5 separate regions of the Homo sapiens genome follow, and regions 2, 3, 4 and 5 are each linked to region 1. The links are contacts of gene promoters, found by promoter capture Hi-C in human tissues and cell types (Jung and others, 2019). All regions are on one chromosome and are shown on one strand. The core of a region is centred on a gene start or on the middle of the fragment in contact, and the rest is flanking DNA. Distances in the headings are between cores, read along the strand shown. Region 1 holds the start of NEGR1 (neuronal growth regulator 1). Region 2 overlaps NEGR1 (neuronal growth regulator 1). Region 3 overlaps LOC105378797 (a long non-coding RNA gene). Region 4 overlaps LOC105378797 (a long non-coding RNA gene). Region 5 overlaps LOC105378797 (a long non-coding RNA gene).

What was found. Contacts are between HindIII fragments. The study calls those that stand out against the background at their distance.
Region 2: a fragment that was not itself captured here is called in contact with the fragment with the promoter of NEGR1 in region 1 in 1 of the 25 tissues and cell types used here (dorsolateral prefrontal cortex).
Region 3: a contact is called between a fragment that was not itself captured here and the fragment with the promoter of NEGR1 in region 1, in 3 of the 25 tissues and cell types used here (H1 embryonic stem cells, aorta and spleen).
Region 4: a fragment that was not itself captured here is called in contact with the fragment with the promoter of NEGR1 in region 1 in 2 of the 25 tissues and cell types used here (H1 embryonic stem cells and mesendoderm cells).
Region 5: a contact is called between a fragment that was not itself captured here and the fragment with the promoter of NEGR1 in region 1, in 2 of the 25 tissues and cell types used here (dorsolateral prefrontal cortex and hippocampus).

Annotation. Positions count from the first base shown.
Region 1 is chr1:72,280,639-72,284,443 of GRCh38, forward strand. It overlaps NEGR1 (neuronal growth regulator 1), which reads right to left and starts at 1,901. Exons shown (of 7, transcript NM_173808.3): 1 at 1,681-1,901. The coding sequence starts at 1,856. It overlaps LOC105378797 (a long non-coding RNA gene), which reads left to right and starts at 2,296. Exons shown (of 6, transcript XR_947506.3): 1 at 2,296-2,767. RefSeq lists silencers at 2,088-2,147, 2,248-2,337 and an enhancer at 3,719-3,805. The HindIII fragment of the contact is 4,654 bases long and covers 1-3,805 here.
Region 2 is chr1:71,843,747-71,847,551 of GRCh38, forward strand. The region is part of intron 2 of NEGR1 (neuronal growth regulator 1); the gene reads right to left. Among named protein-coding and RNA genes, the nearest start is that of NEGR1-IT1, 8.6 kb to the left of the region's middle. The HindIII fragment of the contact is 3,547 bases long and covers 1-3,455 here.
Region 3 is chr1:72,662,614-72,666,418 of GRCh38, forward strand. The region is part of intron 5 of LOC105378797 (a long non-coding RNA gene); the gene reads left to right. Among named protein-coding and RNA genes, the nearest start is that of LINC02796, 100 kb to the right of the region's middle. The HindIII fragment of the contact is 5,002 bases long and covers 1-3,805 here.
Region 4 is chr1:72,598,199-72,602,003 of GRCh38, forward strand. All of the region lies in intron 3 of LOC105378797 (a long non-coding RNA gene), which reads left to right. Among named protein-coding and RNA genes, the nearest start is that of LINC02796, 160 kb to the right of the region's middle. The HindIII fragment of the contact is 3,828 bases long and covers 1-3,556 here.
Region 5 is chr1:72,568,174-72,571,978 of GRCh38, forward strand. All of the region lies in intron 3 of LOC105378797 (a long non-coding RNA gene), which reads left to right. Among named protein-coding and RNA genes, the nearest start is that of LINC02796, 190 kb to the right of the region's middle. The HindIII fragment of the contact is 5,169 bases long and covers 1-3,805 here.

The DNA of each region.
Region 1 (3,805 bases), core at 651-3,150:
TATAGTGGCATTTGTTATTCAAAACAGAAATTATTAAAAACATATGTATTAGTGTATATTAAAAAATACGATAGTATTCCAAATTTGAACTCATAGGCATGTTCCAAAAGGTGTAAGTCATATACCACACCCACATCATTAAATTTAAATATGTTGCATGTTTCAAACAGAAACATTTCCCACTCTCTTTCACCTTAGACATGTCATGTACACTGATGTTGTGCAAGCCAGACTTACAAGCCAACTACCACCCAGTGGAGAAAAAGAAGATCTTTCAGGGAAATGTGAGGTGGGGTGGCAGGGGGAGAAGGGAGGGTGATGGGAAAGAAATGAAGGAATAGGGCGTTTAGCTTTGTTTAGATCTAAGCTTTGCTGATCATCCATTTATATTTTCATAGGAAATAAAATATTCCCAGACTCCCACTCTGCAGTGTTGCTTAGGGGTAAAATCAGGGTATGGATGTTTATTAATGACAAACCACCTCAGAGCTCAAGCTCAGAGGAAAGAAGGGAAAATGAGAAAAATAAGTAAAAGTGAAGACTGATGGAGGGAGGAAGGTAGGAATAAAAAGGGGATAGAAAGACACAGAAAGAGAAAAAGAGAGAAGCAGAGACAGAGTGAGAGCAGCGAGTGAGACAGGCAGTGTGTACACATGTGTGAGTGACAATGTGGAACAGAGAAGGAGAGTATGCCTTTTAAAAACAGTGAGAGACAATCTGAATGTGGAAGTGGTTCTTACAGCATGGAAGTGCCAGTGCATGTGAGGATGTGAGAGTATGTGAGTTAGTATGTTTATGGAAATAAGATTTATGAGGGTGAGTAAATGGTACTGGAGGGGAACAGTGACCATGCCTGTGTGTGCCACAGGGGTGGGAAACGGTATGGGGAGAGGGATGAGAAATGGGAGTCAAAAGAGGGAAGACAGGGCACAGGATAGGGACATTAAGGAGGAATAAAAAAAATAGACAAAAAGAAAAAAGGGTAAAAGAGAGGAGGAAAGGGGATTAAATGTGAGGAACAGAAATTAGAGTCGTGGAGATAAAAATGAGAAAATATGAGAAGAAATTTTAAAAAGGAGGGAAAAAACAGAAAATAGAAAAGGTATGAAAAGAGATATTGGAGGGAAAAAGAGTTACAAGGAGGTGGGGAAAATGGTATAAGAGAATGAGGAAGGAGAAAAGAAAGAAAACAGAAAGCGGTAAAAGGAAAGAAAGATAAAGAGCAAGAAATCGAGCCTAAGTGTCCAAGTGAGAGGGAAAATAAATGGGAGCAGAGAACAGCAGTTTGAAAGAGTCGCTTATGCTGGAGTAAAATAGAAACAAACCTGATAAACTTGTCAGACTCTCCAGGAGTACCCCATGACAGTAAAACAGAGACCTTGTGCATTGAGTTTCAAAGTGGCACCTGCCCCTCCTTCTAAACCTGACAGTTCACTCATCCCCAGGCTACTTGGCGTTCCGGCAAAGTGCTTTAGCATCACGAGTCCAGCTTGCTACCTGCCCCAGCATAAACGGGCCGGGGCTCCGGGAAGAATCTGCACCTGGAATTCTTGGGATGTGGTCTTTCCATGATGAGCACCACCAGCATTATTGCTTGTGTTATAAAGAAGGCAAAGAGGGTTCAAAGAGAGACAGAAAGATAGACCGAAACAAGTACGAAAAGCACGCCGTTCTTCCTACCTAAGCACCGCCGTGTCCCCTTTTCTGACCATCATGTTGTCCACGGCCGCCCAGGGGAAGTCCACACTCTGTCCAGCCGGGAGGCAGGAGGGTAGCAGGCAGCACAGGCTGAGGAGCACCGCCGCCAGCCACTGGTTCGAGCAACAAGCACCCTGCACCAACAGCATCATGTCCATCCCTGCTAGGGCTGCTCACTCTCCAGCAGCTTTCAGCTCGCACTCCCCCACCCCCTGGTGCTGGCGAGTCTTCCCGGGAACCAGGCGGCGCGCCACAGGATTTTTTTTTTTTTTTTTTTTTTTTTTTTTTTTTGGTGGGTGGGTGGGTTTCTTTTCTTTCTTTCTTCCCCCCACCCCAGTTGTTGGGTGTTGTTTCTCTCTTTTTGTTTTTCGGTGTTTTTGCCTCCCCTCCTCCTCTTCGCTTTCCCTCCCTCCCTCCCCTCCCTCCCCCTGGCACCACACTACACCTCCTCTCGGTTGCTTTTGGCCGCGTCCGGAGTGTGTCTAATTCTCGGGCGGCTCGCACACCATCTAGCGAGGAGGCGAGCGCGCCGGCGAGTGAGGGAGGAGGCGCGGCGGCGGGGGAGGAGGCAGGGCGAGCGGCGGCGGCGGCGGCTGCAATCCCAGCAGCAGCAGCAGCAACAGCAACAGCAGCAGCAGAAGCAGCGCGGAGCGCTGCGCCGGCCGCCGGCTCCCGGGCTCGCGCGCGTTGCCAAGCGGCCGTTTCCTTAGCAACCCCGCCAGGGGACTGGGGATGGAGAAGGGAGGGGGATTAAAAAAATAATAAAAAAAGAAAGAAAAAAGATAGCAAGAAAAAAAAAAGAAAAGCAAGACAACGAAAAAAAAAATAGGAGGAACTGTATCACAATTATGCAAACTAAGGGGGAAAGAGAGGCACCTTAGAATGAAGGCTCTCCTTACTGTCGTAAGCGCTAGAGGGATTCTTTGCTAGAAAAGTCTCCGTGTCAGGGCTGGGGTGAAGAGAGCTGAGGGGCGCTTTGCCTTCCCTCACCGGTGCGTTTTACCTCTCGAGGCACCGTAAGTTTGAAGTCCTCCAAGTTGTGGTCGGCGCCATCATGACGCCGGCGACTGTGAGTTGTTTTTTTGTTTATTTTCTTCTAATCTTGCCTGGGTGGCTACGCTGCAGTTAGCGAGCAGCCAACTAGTTCTCTCTGCGTTTTCTCGGGAATAGGTAGGGACGGTGGCGGGGCGCTGCTTTTTTGCGGGGACACGAGGAGGTGCAAGGCCTTGCGGCAGAGCAGCTTGCGTGTTTGTGGCGGTCGGCCCGTATGGATTGCAGGACGCCCCTCTTTTATCTGTGGGTGTTGACACTAAGTTGTGTGTGTGAGTAGGGGATTGTTTATGGTCAACATGGAGTGTGTGTGTGATAGAGAGCGTGTCGTGCGCGCGGGGGCCTGTGCACGCGCGGCACGCAGGCGCGCTGGGAGGGACGGGGCGGGTCATGCTGGGATGTAGAGTCGGGAAAAGACTGCAATCAAGTGTTTTAATTGTGTAGAGCCCAGGCGGTCCAGTTATGTAAGAGGCAGTTTAACCCATTTGAGCCTATCAGGCCGAATAATCGGCGCATCCGAGTCAAGGCAGGGCAGAGTTAAGGGGTTTAACGAGTCGCAGGGTTGTATTTCTTAACAGCCTCCACACCGCGTTAACAGGCTTGCTCCTCCGCGGTGCAGAGCGGTAACCTCCGCTTCCCCACGCAGCAGCCCCTCCGCAGCTCGCCGGGCTGTTTTCAGCCCTGCCCTGGCCCAAGGCAGAAGGAGATACTAGGCGTGGGGCCACCCCTACTCTTTTTTCTTCTTTCCTTCTTGAACTCATTTCCAGATTCAAGATCCTTAAGCTTTTCCGGGCCATTTGCAAATCAATGCGAGAACCGAGGCTGAGTCGTTAGCAGTTACACCAATCAATCTTGTTCAGCGAGGAGTTTGGGAAGCAGAGCGGGGAAGTGAAAATGGAAAATAAGTAATTAAAAAATAAGCTCCCTCCCCCTCACACACTTTTTCCCTTCCTCCACCCCATCCCCCTTTAGCAGTGTTTGAAGAAGATATTCTTTGCCAGATCCCAGTTCTTCTTTTGGAGGAAATGAAGCAAAACCTCACACGTCCGTAACTCGT
Region 2 (3,805 bases), core at 432-2,931, 440 kb before region 1:
CATTTAAAAAATCTGAAATTGACCTATTTTTATACCTCATTGTTTTTCTAATTAAAAAGGCATGAGATTCATTATCTATTATGAATAGAATCGCTCCATTAATTCAATATTCTAGTGAAATCTTAACATGTCTAATTGGCAGGAAATGTAAAGTTCAAAATTTGTGGACATGACAGCATGCTAGGGATATGAAATATCTCTCTCCCTACATTTGTTTCAGTTTCTCCAGAAAACCAGGCTAGCCTTCTTTTAATTGAACTGGAGAGGGAGGTAAAGAGAGGATGTCAGACCAATCCCAATGATAAGTGTCACATCCAATTGCCACCCTTACCAGAGGGAATAAAATTAGGTTAAGGGGACAGGTTCTGTATTTTTAAAAATTACCTGCCATGTATTTTTCCCCAAATGTCAGGTAGCAGCCTCTATTAGAGGTATACCATTAATCAAACTAATGAGAACTATGGATGTAACCATCCCTTAACAAAGACATAATGCCTCAATGGGGAAAAGAGCAGAATGCAAGAATTTTATGAAGTGGGCCTTCCTTTGTAAACACTTGTGTTTGAATCACACCATAGTGTCCAAATCAGGGCCTCCTGATCCTGACAACAGTGTTTAATGTTCCCTAACAGAGAGGGTCATAATACTGAATCAAAATCAGTTTTACTTATGGTTTTAATGGAAAAAATAACATTTGATTTGCCACAGTAAGGCATTTCAAAGCCATTCTTAATGACCTAAATCTTACTGGTGATCCTTCAGGTTTTGAAGAAGCTGCTGAAAAGAGAGGAAGTATTTGTAGGAAACTACAATCCTGCCAACAGTGTTCACATGGAAGCTGTCCTTGACCCGTTTGCACGTATTGAAACCACTCTGAGTTCTCCTGCTTTATTGTTCAATCTAGACTAGCAGGAATGGCATAAAATCAGGATACTACGCCTCAGGCTTGATAAGAAATTAGTTTCTCACCAGCCTTTTCAAACAGCTCAGGGTGACTTCAGTAGAAGAGAGAAGCAAAGAGTTTGGAGATTAAAGGAATGAGAGAAGTCAGATCACTAACACATGGTGACTGGCCTTGGCCCAACCCCAGGACAGAGATTGTCTTGTCTTCCTAGACATCCTGGTGGACATCCTTGAACAGACAGGCCTGCCCAGGGGGACTATCCAGGATATAGTCAAGAAAGTGCCTTCTATAGGAGTTCAGATTTGCAGACAGAAATTATTTCAGGTTTTGAACATATATATTAAAATGTTTTCTTAGTATGAGTTAATCTGAGGTCAAGGCAAATAGAGGTTTAATGTTAGGAATAATAGACAATGGTTCTTTTTCAAACCAATCAGAAATTGTTCTTAATAAATAATGACTTACATCATTTTAATTGCACAGTATGCAGTCACAAGGAAACATTTCCTGTGTTAATTTCTACATAGCGCTCAGAGAGTGTAGCTTAATTTTTGTTTTTATTTTTGATAAATAACTATAGAATTTTATATATCTACACAGAATATATTTCATAAATAAGTGCATAAATATGAAAGCATAAATAGTAACCAATTTGTGCATAAATAAGAAGGCATAAATCATAATCAATTTAATAAGTAATTAAAGTTATTATTATATTTAAAAATCAGATCTTGAGATGGGTAGGAGATGGTAAGAAAAAAGAAACAAAGTCCCACATAATGGACTCCATGAAGACTTTTGTTCTCAGGGGAAATCAGGCTGCCCCAATTTCTTCACCAAGTATCACCAAAATTAAGTAATACTAATGAAACTAAGTACTTAGAAATAATATTTATTGAGCACTGACTATCATGTCCTATTCTAAACACTTAACATTCAGCCAATTTTCACCACAACCCTACAAAGAGGTACTCTTCTTATCTCCACTTTTAAACAAATGAGAAAACTGAGGTAGAAAGAGAGTAAGTTGATCCAATTCACACAGCAAAAAGGACAATAGAGCCAGATCTATCTATCTATCTATCTACCTACCTACCTACCTACCTACATATCTATCTATTTATTTAGAGATGGGCTCTTGCTGTGTCACTCATGCTGAAGTGCAATGGCACGATCACAGCTCACTGCAGCCTCAAACTCCTGGGCTCACGGGATCCTCCCACCTCAGTCTTTCATGTAGCTAGGACTACAAGGGCATGCCACGGCACCTGGCTTTTTTTTTTTTTTTTTTTTTAAGAGATGAGGGTCTCACTATGTTGTCCATGCTGGTCTCAAACTCCTAGGCTTAAGCTATTCTCCCACCACAGGCTTCCAAAGCCCTAGGATTACAGGCATGGGCCACCACCCCCAGCCAAGAGCCAGATTTAAATCATGTGGTCTGACCCCAGGGCCTCTGTTATTCTCTCTCCTGCCAACCTGGAAGCCAGAAAGGTTGTTATTCTCTTCCTTACTCTAGGGCTGTCCTCTGAAGTTGAGCTGAATGGAAAGCAAGTTTCCCCCCCAACCTAATAAAAATTCTGCTCATAGAGAAGTGTTTAAATCTGATTCCTTTTCTAATACCAAGTACCTAGGAGTCCGATTAGCCACATCTATCTAACTCAACAAGAGGTCTTAACTACTTGTATGATTTATCTCCTTTGTTCTTCAGCACTACAAATACCCACCCACCCACCCACACACACACACACACACAAACACACACACAAACACACACACATGCAGGTTATGGAAGTAAAAAGATTGCTGACACATTTTCTAGGAATTGTTTCCTGGGGGAAAAAATGTGAATAAATAGTAAAGCTGACTCTCTCATCCTCTGGTTTCACTTCATCCCATACCCTTGAAGAACCCAGAAATTCCACACATATTACTTTCTAGCTGTTCTCTCTTTTCTTTACCACCCTATATATTGTCTTAGTCCATTCAGGCTGCTGTAACAAAAAGCCTTAGAATGGGTAACTTAGAAATATATCACAATTCTGGAGACTGAGAAATGCAAGATCAAAGTGGCAGCAGGCTCTGTGCCCGGTGAGGGCCTGTTCCTTATAGGCAGTGCCTTCTTGCTGCATCCTCACAGTGCGGAAGAGGCAAACAAGCTTCCTTGTGCCTCTTTGATAAATGCACTAATCTAAACCATGAGGGCTCTACCCTCATGACCTAATCACCTCCTAAAAGACCCATCTCTTGATACTGTTACATTTGGTATTAGGTTTCAACTCATGAATTTGCTAGGGACACAAATTTTCAGACCATAGCACATATTTAAACATTTAAGCATTGCAATGTTTTCTTCTCCCACAGTACTTACTCTCCAAAATGAATTCTTCTCTTTCTTTTCACATTACTACTCTGTATACCACTCCAATCAAATCCCCCCATCTCACAGTATAGACCATTTGACTCAAGTTGGCTTTGGATATCAAGTCAGAAGCACTGAGGTCAAGAATATTTTATTACACTGGGGAATAAGGCCTCATTTCATCCCCTCTGCTGTGTTGAGATGAACTGTTCAGACTGTTTATTGATATTTACTTAATGATAAATAGAAATTGCATATATTTACTGTGTACAACATAATGTTTTGAAATGCAGGCACACCTCATTTTATTATCTTCCTTTCATTGCACTTTACAGATAATGCATTTGTTACAAACTGAAGGTTTGTGGCAACACTGTGTCCAGCGAGTCTATCAGCACCATTTTTTCAACAGCATGAGCTCATTTCATGTCTCTGTGTCCCATTTTGGTAGTTCTCATAATGTTTTAAGCATTTTCATAATTATTATACGTGTTTTAGTGATTTGTGATCAGTGATCTTTGATGTTACTCTTGTAATTGTTT
Region 3 (3,805 bases), core at 411-2,910, 380 kb after region 1:
AGATATCTAAGACAACTTCAAGAAGACTCACATTCTGAAGCTCAGAAAAGAAATCATATGAGGGGTCATAGTTCATGGAAATGTGCATTATGGAAAAAGTATGAATGAAGTTCCAATTTTTTTGCATCACGATTAACTTGTAATAACTTGTCATAACATGTCTGAATAAGATCTAGTTTGAGGCACTCAAAAGCATAAGATATCAGTTTTAAAGGAGCCCCTATTAGAGCAACATGAATTCTGCTAAAATTGAAGCAAGACAAACATGAAATTTGTAGTGAAGCTTGGGTAGAAGAATGGTGAAATCACTGATGCTTTATGAAAAGTTTATGCAGAAAATGCCTTAAAGCAACCTGAAACAATACAAGTGGATAACTCATTTTAAGAAAGGACTAGACAATATTGAATATGAAGCCCACAGCAGCAGGCCATCCACATCAATTTACAAGGAAAAAATTCATCTTTTTCATGACCTCACTGAAGAGGAATGATGATTAATAGCACAAACAATAACCAACACCATAGACATCTCAGTTTGTTCAGCTTACACTGTTCTGGCTGAAAAAATAAAGTCAAGCAAACTTTCCACTTAATGGGTACCAAAATCATTACACCCAGTTCAGCTGCAGACAAGAGCAGGGCTTTCAATGGAAATTTTAAACATGGGGGATCAAGATCCTGAACCATTTCTCCAAAAATTTGTAACAGAAGATGAAACACGGATTTGCCAGGCAATCCTGAAGACAAAGCACAATCAAAGCAATGGCTATCAAGAGGTGGAAGTGGTCCAGTCAAAGCAAAAGCAAAGGTCATGTCAACAGTTTTTTGGGGGATGCTCATAGCATTTTGCTTTTTGTGTTTCTGGAGGACAAAAGAAAGATAACATCTACTTATTGTGAGACTGTTTTGAGAAAGTTAACTAACACTCCAAAAGAAAAGTGCCTGGAAAAGCTTTACCAGAGAGTCCTTCTTTACCACAACAATGCTCATACTCATTTCTCTCATCAAACAAGGACAATTTTGTTAATATTTTGATAGAAAATCACCAGGCATCCACCTTACTGTCCTGGTTTGGCCCTCACTGACTTCTTTTTGTTTCCTAATCTTAAAAAATCTTTAAAGAGTACTCAATTTTCTTCATTCAATAATATGAAAAGATTGCATTGACATGGTTAAATTCTCAGGAACCTTGGGTTTTTAAGGATGAACCGAATGGCTTGTATCATCACTTAGCTGTCTTAAGCCTGATGGAGCTTATGTTGAGAAAGTTTATATTATTTATTTACATTTTTTAATTCTATTTGCCAAGAACTTCTTGAAGTCTCCTCATACATTTGGGAGATGTGAGGATTGATATGGTTCTTAAATCTTGGAAATAGAATGGTTCCTTAAGTCAGAACATCCTGAGTGAGAGCAGAATTGGTCCTGGCACTGGTTCATGAGAACTGCTTCATTTATAATTTATGTTCTTGAGGTAATATTTATTTATTTCTGTTTTATATTTATTTTGTGAGTTTTGTCTTTCTATTTTTGTTTTTGAGACAAGGTCTCACGCTATCACTAGGCTGGAGTGCAGTGTTGTGATCATGGCTCACTGCAGCCTCGAACTCCTGGGCTCAAGCAATCCTCCCAGTTTGGCCTCAGGAACAGCTGGGACCACAGGCAGGTGCCAGCAAGCCCAGCTAATTTTTAAATTTTTTTGTAGAGACAGGGTCCCACTATGTTTCCCAGGTTAGCCTTCAACTCTTGAGCTCAAGTGATCCTCCCACCTCAGCCTCCCAAAGTGCTGGGATTATAGGTGTGAGCCACTGTACTTGGCCTATTTCATTTTAATATCAATTTATTTGAAACAAAAAAATAAAAGCTCTTATTTGAAAAATGTCAAACATTTATTTGGCCAATAAATATATTAGACTAAAACCCTTCAAGTCATCCTCTGGCCCTTTCCTTTCTATCACACACCATATTCAATCCATCATTCAATTCTGCCAAGTCTCCTGTCATCCTCATTTCAATGGCTTCACTGTCACCCTTGTCCAAACTACTATGACCTTTTCTCCAAGTAGAAATCAGAGAGAGTCTTTTAGAATAGAAGTAAAATCAAGTTACTCTTTTACTCAAAGTTCTCGAATGATCCCATCACACTTAGATAAAATCTAGATTCTTTTGGAAGCCTGAAAATTGGTGCTGCTCTTCCTGATTATGGCTCTAATTTCACCGCCTGTGACTTTCTTCATGGCTTGCTGCATTTCAGGCACACTGGCCTTACGAGTATTTCTCTAAGTCTGTTATTGCCTCTAGGCATTTATACTTGCAGTTACTTCTGTCCCTAAAGCTCATCCCTCACATATGCCCAAGGCTTACTCTTCATTCCTGTTTCTGCTCAAATAACAACTTCTTAGAGACCTTTTCCATCCACCCTATCTGTAACAGTGCTTGTTCTTCTCTCTCTACTATGTATACACTTACCAGGTTTTTATGTTTTCTATATTTCTTATTAACTAGTTCCATATTTACATGTTTATTTATCATCTCTTTCTCTCTTAGGAATATAAGCTTTGTGACATTAAGATTCTATTTTGATCACTCTTACTTTCAGTGCTAGTATGTGTCTAACACACAGTGGACATTCAAATATTTGTGCAGAAAAAACTATACGTATGTAAATGAATATATAGACTTTAATATTAAAGTCACTTATCTACTCAGTTAATAATTATTCATCATTTACCTACAATGTTTTCAAAATGAGTTATAAAACAGAAGATTTTCAACTTTCTTAAATCCAATGTGTGAATAACAACTCAAAACATTCTTATTGACAAATAATCTAGCGATTGCATTAATACTTCTCTCTAGTATTTCAGATGCTTGTCAAATCAACCTAGACAGATTTATTTTTAATTGTTAAGAGATGAACTTCTGGAAATATGTTTTCTATTTGTCACAGATGTGTCTACATGTAGTTAAACTTACAGTATTTACTATCTGTATTGGCCTGCACTTTCCTTTTGCACTAACAAGAATTTCTCCTTGACAGGGTTTTGCTCCATTGCATAATTCAGATGTTCATTAAAATACAGTGAGATTTTGCGGAATCCATTGAATACTACTTATGTTTTAATGAGCATTAATGAGCTTTGTGATTGTCCTGTGGAGCAAAACTCATATCTCATTAGGTGGATTCCCAAAATGCCTAAAGGTGAGCAGACATAGCTTTAGATATACAAGGTAATTTCATACTTAATTAGTTCCTTACTTGCCACACCACAGATACACATTCAGAACTATGGTTTGAAATGGCAAACTTGTTGTTTGCTGTGACAAGTCAATGAAATGGTAGAATTCATAGAAAGCCTTTGTAAGTATTTTAAGGCCATTCTCTATTATGTTAATAAATTGGCATGTTATGATTCAATTCACAGAAAATAGACAATAAGGAGAAAAAGTTAAATGATTCCAAACTTGAGTTGACATTGCTTGGTATTTTATACAGAATATGACGTTGTGAAATACTTACATTTATATGTTCAGATGTGGGTGGCAGGGAATTTACATATAGTATTTTCCTTCTAATAAAAACTCTGAAAGTTGGAACTGTTATTTTCACATTACGAATAAGAAAACTGATATATGAAGTGTTTAAGTTACTTGCTGTGTTAGTTTGCTAGGGCTGTAACAAAATACCACAGACTGTGTCTCATAAACAACAGAAATTTATTTTCTCAGTTCTAGAGGCTGGAAGTCCAAAATCAAGGTGACAGTAGGTTTCCTTGCTTTTGAGGTCCCTCTTCTTAGACTGCAG
Region 4 (3,805 bases), core at 393-2,892, 320 kb after region 1:
ACCATATTAACAGCATAATGAACAAAAATCACATGATAATCTTAATAGCTGCAGAAAAATCATTAGAAAAAATCCAAGATCGTTTTATTTTAAAAGCACTCAACAAAGCAGGAATGGAGAGATGTATTCTCAACTTGATAGAGGCTATCAACACACACCCTACAGCTAACATCATACTTTGTGGTGAAAAACTAAATCCTTTTCCTTTAATATTAGAAAGAAAACAAGGATGTCTGCTTTTTCTACCTCCTTTTCAGTAGTGTATCTGAGGTTTGATCCATGTCATTTTGGCGAAAGGAAAGAAAAGACATCCAAACAAACAGGCAAGGAAAGATTAAAATTATCCGTATTCACAGATGACATGATCTTGTAGATACAAAATCCTAAGGAACACGTGCATACACACACACACACACACACTACACGCATACAGGCATGGATACACATACATACACACACACCAACTGGAATTTAAAAATGAGTTTAGCAAGGTTGCAGGACACAAAGTCAATATTTTTTTAAAATTGTATTCATATATACTAGCAATGAATAATTCAGAAGTGAAATTAAAACAATTTCATTTACAATAATATCAAAAGGAATAAAATTCTCAGGAATAAATTTGACAAATTAAAAAGAGGAGTGAACAATTAGTATACTGAAGCTACAAAATATCATTACAAATTAAGAAAGACCTAAATATATGGAAGAACATTTTATATACTTGGATCAGAAAACTTATTATTATTAAAATGGTGATACCAAGTTGATCCACAGATTAAGTGTAATCCCTGTCTAAATCTAAGATTCCTTTTTACAGAAATTGACAAAACGATCTTTAAATTCATGTGGAAATGCAAGAGGCTGGGCCCATAATTGCCAAAACTATCTTGAAGAACCAATTTAGGGGATTTGCACTTTAAAACTCACTATAAAGCTATAGTAATCAAGACAGTGTCTGTCGTATTGCCATAAGAGTAGACACACAGAATAATGCAGTTAGAATTGAGAGTCCATGAATAACCAATTTTACACTTATGGCCAACTGATTTTAGCACAGATGTTAAGAGAATTCAATGGGAAGTTAATATCCTTTTCTTTTCTTTAATTTATTTATTTATTTATTTATTTATTTATTTATTTTCTGAAAGAGTCTCACTCTGTTGCCCAAGCTGGAGTACAGTGGTACTGTGTCAGCTCACTGCAACCTTCATCTCCTGGGTTCAAGCAATTCTCCTGCCTCAGCCTCCCAAGTAGCTGGGATTACAGGCGCCCACCACCACACCTGGTTAATTTTTTTATATTTTTAGTAGCGACGGGGTTTCACCATGTTGGCCAGGCTGGTCTCGAACTACTGACCTCAGCTGATCCATCTGCCTCGGCCACCCAAAATGTTGGGATTATAGGCATGAGCCACCGTGCCCGGCCCATTTAATATCCTTTTCAATAAATAGTCCTGGGACAACTGTATATCCTCATGTAAATGAATGAATTAAACCCCCAATTTCAAATCATACACAAAATTTAACTCAAAATACACACAGATGTAAATGTAGGGGTTAAAATCTTAAGACTCGGCCGGGCGCGGTCATGTCTTCATGGTTCATCTATATTATAGTACATATTAATACTTCGCTCCTTTTTGTGGATCAGTAATATTCCATAGTATGAATATACCACTATCTCTTTTTGCATTTATCAGTTGAAGGACCTTTGAGTTGTTTCTGCTTTTCTTTTATATTGGTTTCGTTTTTGACTATTATAAATAATGCTGTTATAAATATATATTAATACATTTTTATGTATATGTGTTTTCAATTATCTTGTGTAAATAACTAGAAGTGAAATTGCAGGGTCATATAGTAACTTTATGTTAATATTGTGAAGAATTGCTAAACTGCTTTGCAAATTGCAAAGTGGATGAAATATTTTGGATTTTCCACCAGCAATCTATGATGTTTCTAATTTCTCCACAACCTTGCCAACATTTGTTATTGTCCATCTTTTTTTATTATCGCCATCCTAGTGAGTATGAAATGGTTTCTAAATATGCTTTTTATTTGTTTTTCCCTAACAATTAATGTGTGAAGCATCTTTTCATATATTATTGGCCATTTCTATAGCATTATTGGAAAATGTCTATTCAAAACTTTTCCCATTTAAAATTTTGTCTTTTCATTGTTGAGTTGCATACGTTCATAATATATTGTAGTTAAAAGTCTATTATTAAATATATGATTTGCAAATGTCTCCTATAAAAATAAATCTTCCATTTAGGTCTTTCTTAATTTCTTTTAGTGATGTTTTTTAGGTACTGTATACAAATCTTACACTTCTCTTGTTAATTTGTTAAATTTATCCCTGTGAGTTATCTTTTTGTTTCTTGAAGGGATCATTTGAAGCACAAGCTTTTGCTCTTTTAAAAAATGCAAAAAGAAATAGTGGTATATGCAAAAGTGATAAATGCAAAAAGAAATAGTGGTATATTCATACTATGGAATATTATTGATCCATAAAAAGGAGTGAAGTATTAATATGTACTGTAACAGATGAACCATGAAGGCCATATATTGTATTTATTTGTATAAAATATGCAGAATAAAAAGCTCCATAGAGACAGAAATTAGATTCATCTTTGTCAGGGAATGAGGAGAGAATGAGTGGAGAATGACTGTTAATACCCACAGGGTTTCTTTTGAGGTGATGAAAATGTTCTAAAATTAGACAATGGTGATGGTTGCACAAATCTATCCTAAAAAATCACTGGACTGTATACTTTAAAATAATGAATTTGTTGTGATGTAAATTAAATCTCAATACAGTTGATAAAAAGATCTTTATTATTTTTAGAAGTTATAACAAAAGTATTCCTTTTTTTGTTCTAAAATACATTTATCTGTCCAGTCTTCAACTTTTGGAGCCCCCAGTTTTTCCCTGTCCATGAGCCTCATCGTGCTTCCCTCTTTTCTTATCAGGCTTAAATATTGTTTTCCATTACAAGAGTGCTTCTCTTTCATATGTCCTCAACTGACCTGCTGTTATCTACTTTACGCAAACATTCTGGACTGGCCAAATTCCAACCCAAGTCTACACAAACTCTACTCCTGCCCTAATGAGCCTAAAATTCTGCATAAAGAGATTATTATTAATGATGATATATTGTGTTTTTTGTTTTGTTTTGTTTCTGTTTTTGTTTCTGTTTTGAGGCAAGGTCTCCCTCTGTTGCCCAGGCTGGAGTGCAGTGGAGGAATCATGGCTGTATTGCAGCCTTGACCTCCTGGCCCATGGGATCCACCCACCTCAGCCTGTAGAGTAGCTGGGACCACATGCCGGTACCACCACGCACAGCTAATTTCTTTTTAAATTTTTTGTAGAGATGGGGGTCTCACTAAGTCAGCTAGGATGGTCTTGAACTCCTGGGCTCAGGTGATTTGCCCTTCCTCGGCCTCCCAAAGTGTCAGGATTATAGGCGTGAGCCACCACATACAGCCTATATTCTTGAAAAATGCTAAGAACAAATGTTAAGTCTTCTTAACACAAAAATGATAATTATGTGAGATAACACATTTGTTAATTAGCTAGATTTAACCGTCTTATAATGTATATATATTTCAAAACATCATGATGTACATAATAAATACAATTCGGACAATTAAATAAATAGCTAAATAAATAAAAGTAAAAATAATTTACACACACACACACACACACAGTCATGCTTCCTGAGATATCTTCAAATTGATGACTGGACACTATAAATATCCTTCAATGCTGCCCAGCAATCCTACTAGTTTGCTAGCCAAAT
Region 5 (3,805 bases), core at 455-2,954, 290 kb after region 1:
TGACATATGCTGGAATGTGGTTTGTCACCTGTAGAAAACTAATTCTGATTAGCACTAAGATTAGTCATTCTAGTCTCCACTGGGTTGCAGTTTTTAAGCTTCACTAGAATCTTCCCCAACTTTTGGCACCTGGGTGTTATGCATACCTGTGACCACAAACTGAAACTGAACCGATGAAATTGACATACTCAGAATGGAAACACTAATGTTGTCAGTTGAGGAGAAGGACTCTCAGAGGAGGACCAAGTTAATATGACAACTCCACTGAAGTGAATTACCACTAAAGAAAGACACTCTAGCATATGCAAATTGTTTTTCATTGTTATGCAGAATATCTAGAAGGAGAGAATACCATTAAGTTTCTTTATAACATCTGATATTATTTTCCTCAACATTCCTTCTAGCAAGTTTGCTAAAGACTCATCTTGGGGATTGTGAAATGCCAATGGTTTTAGGTGTCCAGACACATGAATACTCCAGAAAGGAAAATAGATGCATGTGTTAAAATGAGTGACAGCATTCTATCAGAATTATCTTGGGTATTAATATATCTTCCGGCCCAGATTCAAGGTAACAGCTAAACAACCACACCCCCACAGATAAACAAACATAGAAGAAGTAGATCTCTTCATACCATCATTTAGCTCTATTCTTCCCTCTCTTTGGGAACAGAATTTCCATTTCTTTGGAACAAAATGTAGTTTTCCATATCTTGCCCTCCTACTTTGTATTTTCCTGATTCATTTTTAAGGCCTTGGACTTAGTAAATTGTCAAGTTAATTGTGACATAATGAAAAATTGAATAAACTCAGGAAACACAAATAAATGTCTGGGTACTGGGGAGGTCCAAACTTTCTTTGGAATGTGTAGCACTCATATTTAGTAGAGACAATAGCTTTAGAAATGTGTTTGTGTAACAGAAAAAATGAAATTTTTTTTTCTACCTCACACCCCTCCTCTTTCATTCTTAGATGGGTAACTTTCCTCTTTCTCCATGGATGGCTCTGACTCAGGGAGAGGTTTGGAGTATAGTTTTTTTTGCTCTCCGAAAATATGTAAAAACCCATTTGAAGCCAGAGAAGGATTGTACCATGCTTCTGTACAAAGGATAAGGCAGTCATTGACACTAACTTATAGCAATATAATACACCATGAAAGAAGGAGAGTAAGGAATACACCATTTAAATAAAGGGTTTGGAAATGGAATCTGGTTCTTGAACCTTAATTGTATTCCACTAAATGACATTGATTTTTTTTAACCAGAGAGGATGGACTATAAAAGATTGTCCATATGTCACACTATAGGTTCTTTTGTCTTTATGACTGCTGAAAAACTTCCCCAAAAGCATTTTGGTGGAATATTTCTTATATTCCCAACAAATTCTTCAACCGCTCTCCAAATTATTGATGAGTTTATTCCTTGAACATAACTAAGACAGAGAAAAAGTTATTATCAAAAATATAGTTATACTTAAAAGATTTTGACTTTTCTGAATAAAGCAATAATACATGGTGCTTGATATTGCACCTATAATTTTACACCTCAGTGATTTTAATATAATGAACAATAGATATGTAATTTCAACTTTCAACTCTAGTAAGAGATGGGTTTGCCCCTGCCACTTGGAATTTAGATTCATGTCTATTATCTCATGCAAGGAAGTTTCCACATTGGAGTATGCTGGTCCACAAAATGTTCAAATTTGTGTGTTATTACCTTAATACTTGTTTTCATTTGAAGCATTTATTTTCTTGGTCAGTGAGAAGCTATCATATACAGTCCAAAAAATTTCTGTGTACAGATTTATTGAGAGATACTTCAGTTCAAACCAAAAAATAAACATTTTTATTAACTCTGTTAAATGGTCACTATCCCCAGAAGCAGTAGTTATCAAAATGTAGCTCCCAGAAGAGTAGCATCAGCATTACCTGGGAATTTGTTAAAAATGAAAATTATGAGACCTTAACCAGAAGTACTGATTCACAAACTCTAAGAGTGAGGTCCAGTAATCTGAGTTTTAATGAGCTCTCCAGATGATGTGTGGTCGGTGGGAGCCACTAATTATAAAAATAAAGTGAGTAGGATTGAAAACAAATTTGATATTCTTATATGTAGGGCAATAAAGCAGTAATGGAAAGTACCAGGAAAATCAAGTCACTGTCACATGTACCACATTAACTAAATTTAGATAATTAGTTGGCATAGTAATAGTTTCTAACTTTGTGGTACATTAAAGTTATCAAATTGCCTTCAGATACTTCACCATATTGGTTTCTCATCATAACCCTCTGAGTTAGCTAGCACAAACCAAATATTGTTTCCTTCCTATAAGAACACTCAAGATTTTGTCAAAAGGCAACCAGCTAGAGATGGCATTAGAATCATCTTCTGTCTTGGTCTCTTTGAAATTTGCTGTGGTACAATAAGACCCTTATGAAAAGGGACTGACTTAAAATATGGCATGTTTTTGTCCTGCATCAGTAATACTTTCATCTTTGGTTATCACTCTTAATATTAAGTGACATATTAAAGTGCATCAGAGAAAAGACCTTCACATGTTAAAATGTTCATGTGCTGCATTGTGTGAATTTTTTTAAGGAGATTAGCCACCTATACTCAGTACCTTAATGTCCATTTATTGTATTGAGGTACTGACATGTTTTACAATTGATAACAAAATGTACTTCAAGAAAATTGTAGTCTTCAGCTTTCCTTTGTAGGTGAAAACTCTAGTCAAGTCTCTATTGTTTTATTGACTCATAAGGTATTCTGTTGAGTGCCTATTTTATACCATGTCCTCTTCTAGGCACTAGGAAAATAAATGTCACGAGTCTCGCATTTTAAGAGCTTCCTTTATCTAGAAACAAAACAAGCCCCAGGAATAGCTAAGCCACTATCATCTTGCCCTGCAGTTTGGCAACAGCTTTCTCAACTGTCTTTCTGTGTTCTTTTCCCTGCTGCAATAGAAAATGAACCTTTTCAGGAATAAATGAGGTTATATCATTTCTCTGCCCAAAACCCTCTAGAAGATTTCCATTACATTTAAAGAATAAAATCCTAAGTATTAGTCTCTGACATACTTTGCCTTAAGTATCTCCTTATTGTTTCTTCAACATATTAAGCACATGTCCAACTCAAATCCTCTGAACCAGCTGTCATTTGGTCTGAAACATTTTTGCCCTAAAAATTTTCATGGCTCATTATTTTATTTCACTCTGTTTTCTATTCAAATAAGCTTTCTTAGAAAGGCCTTTCCTGACCAATAACTCTATGTAAAATAATCCCACACACTCCCAATCCAGTCACTTTCAAATCCTCTCACTTTGCTACTTTTCTTGTTCAAAGCACTTATGAATACCTGACAGTATATAATATATGTCAATTTGGGATTATCACTTAATATTTTATATTAAAAATAATGTATGAATTTTTAGCCATTAATTGCTTGTTTATGATTTATAATTCTTTTCCCTAGTACTTGGATTCCATAAAGACAGAGATTTTTATCATTGTGTTTACCACTATATTCTTGACACCAAGAATTAAAAGTTATGAACATACAAAAATTATGTATGAAAAATAAATCACTTTATAATGAAAAATTTAATTAATGATAATATGTAGCACAAGGTACAAGTATGCCCTAAATAACATTATTAACAAGTGTATGCAGGATAAATTGATGGATTTGAATGAGCAAATAAAGATATCACAAAGATAACAGGAGAGCTCCACTATCCATTTACTAGATCAGACATATTCTAATCTAGTAAATAGACATCATAAAATATGTGGGAGGTGAAA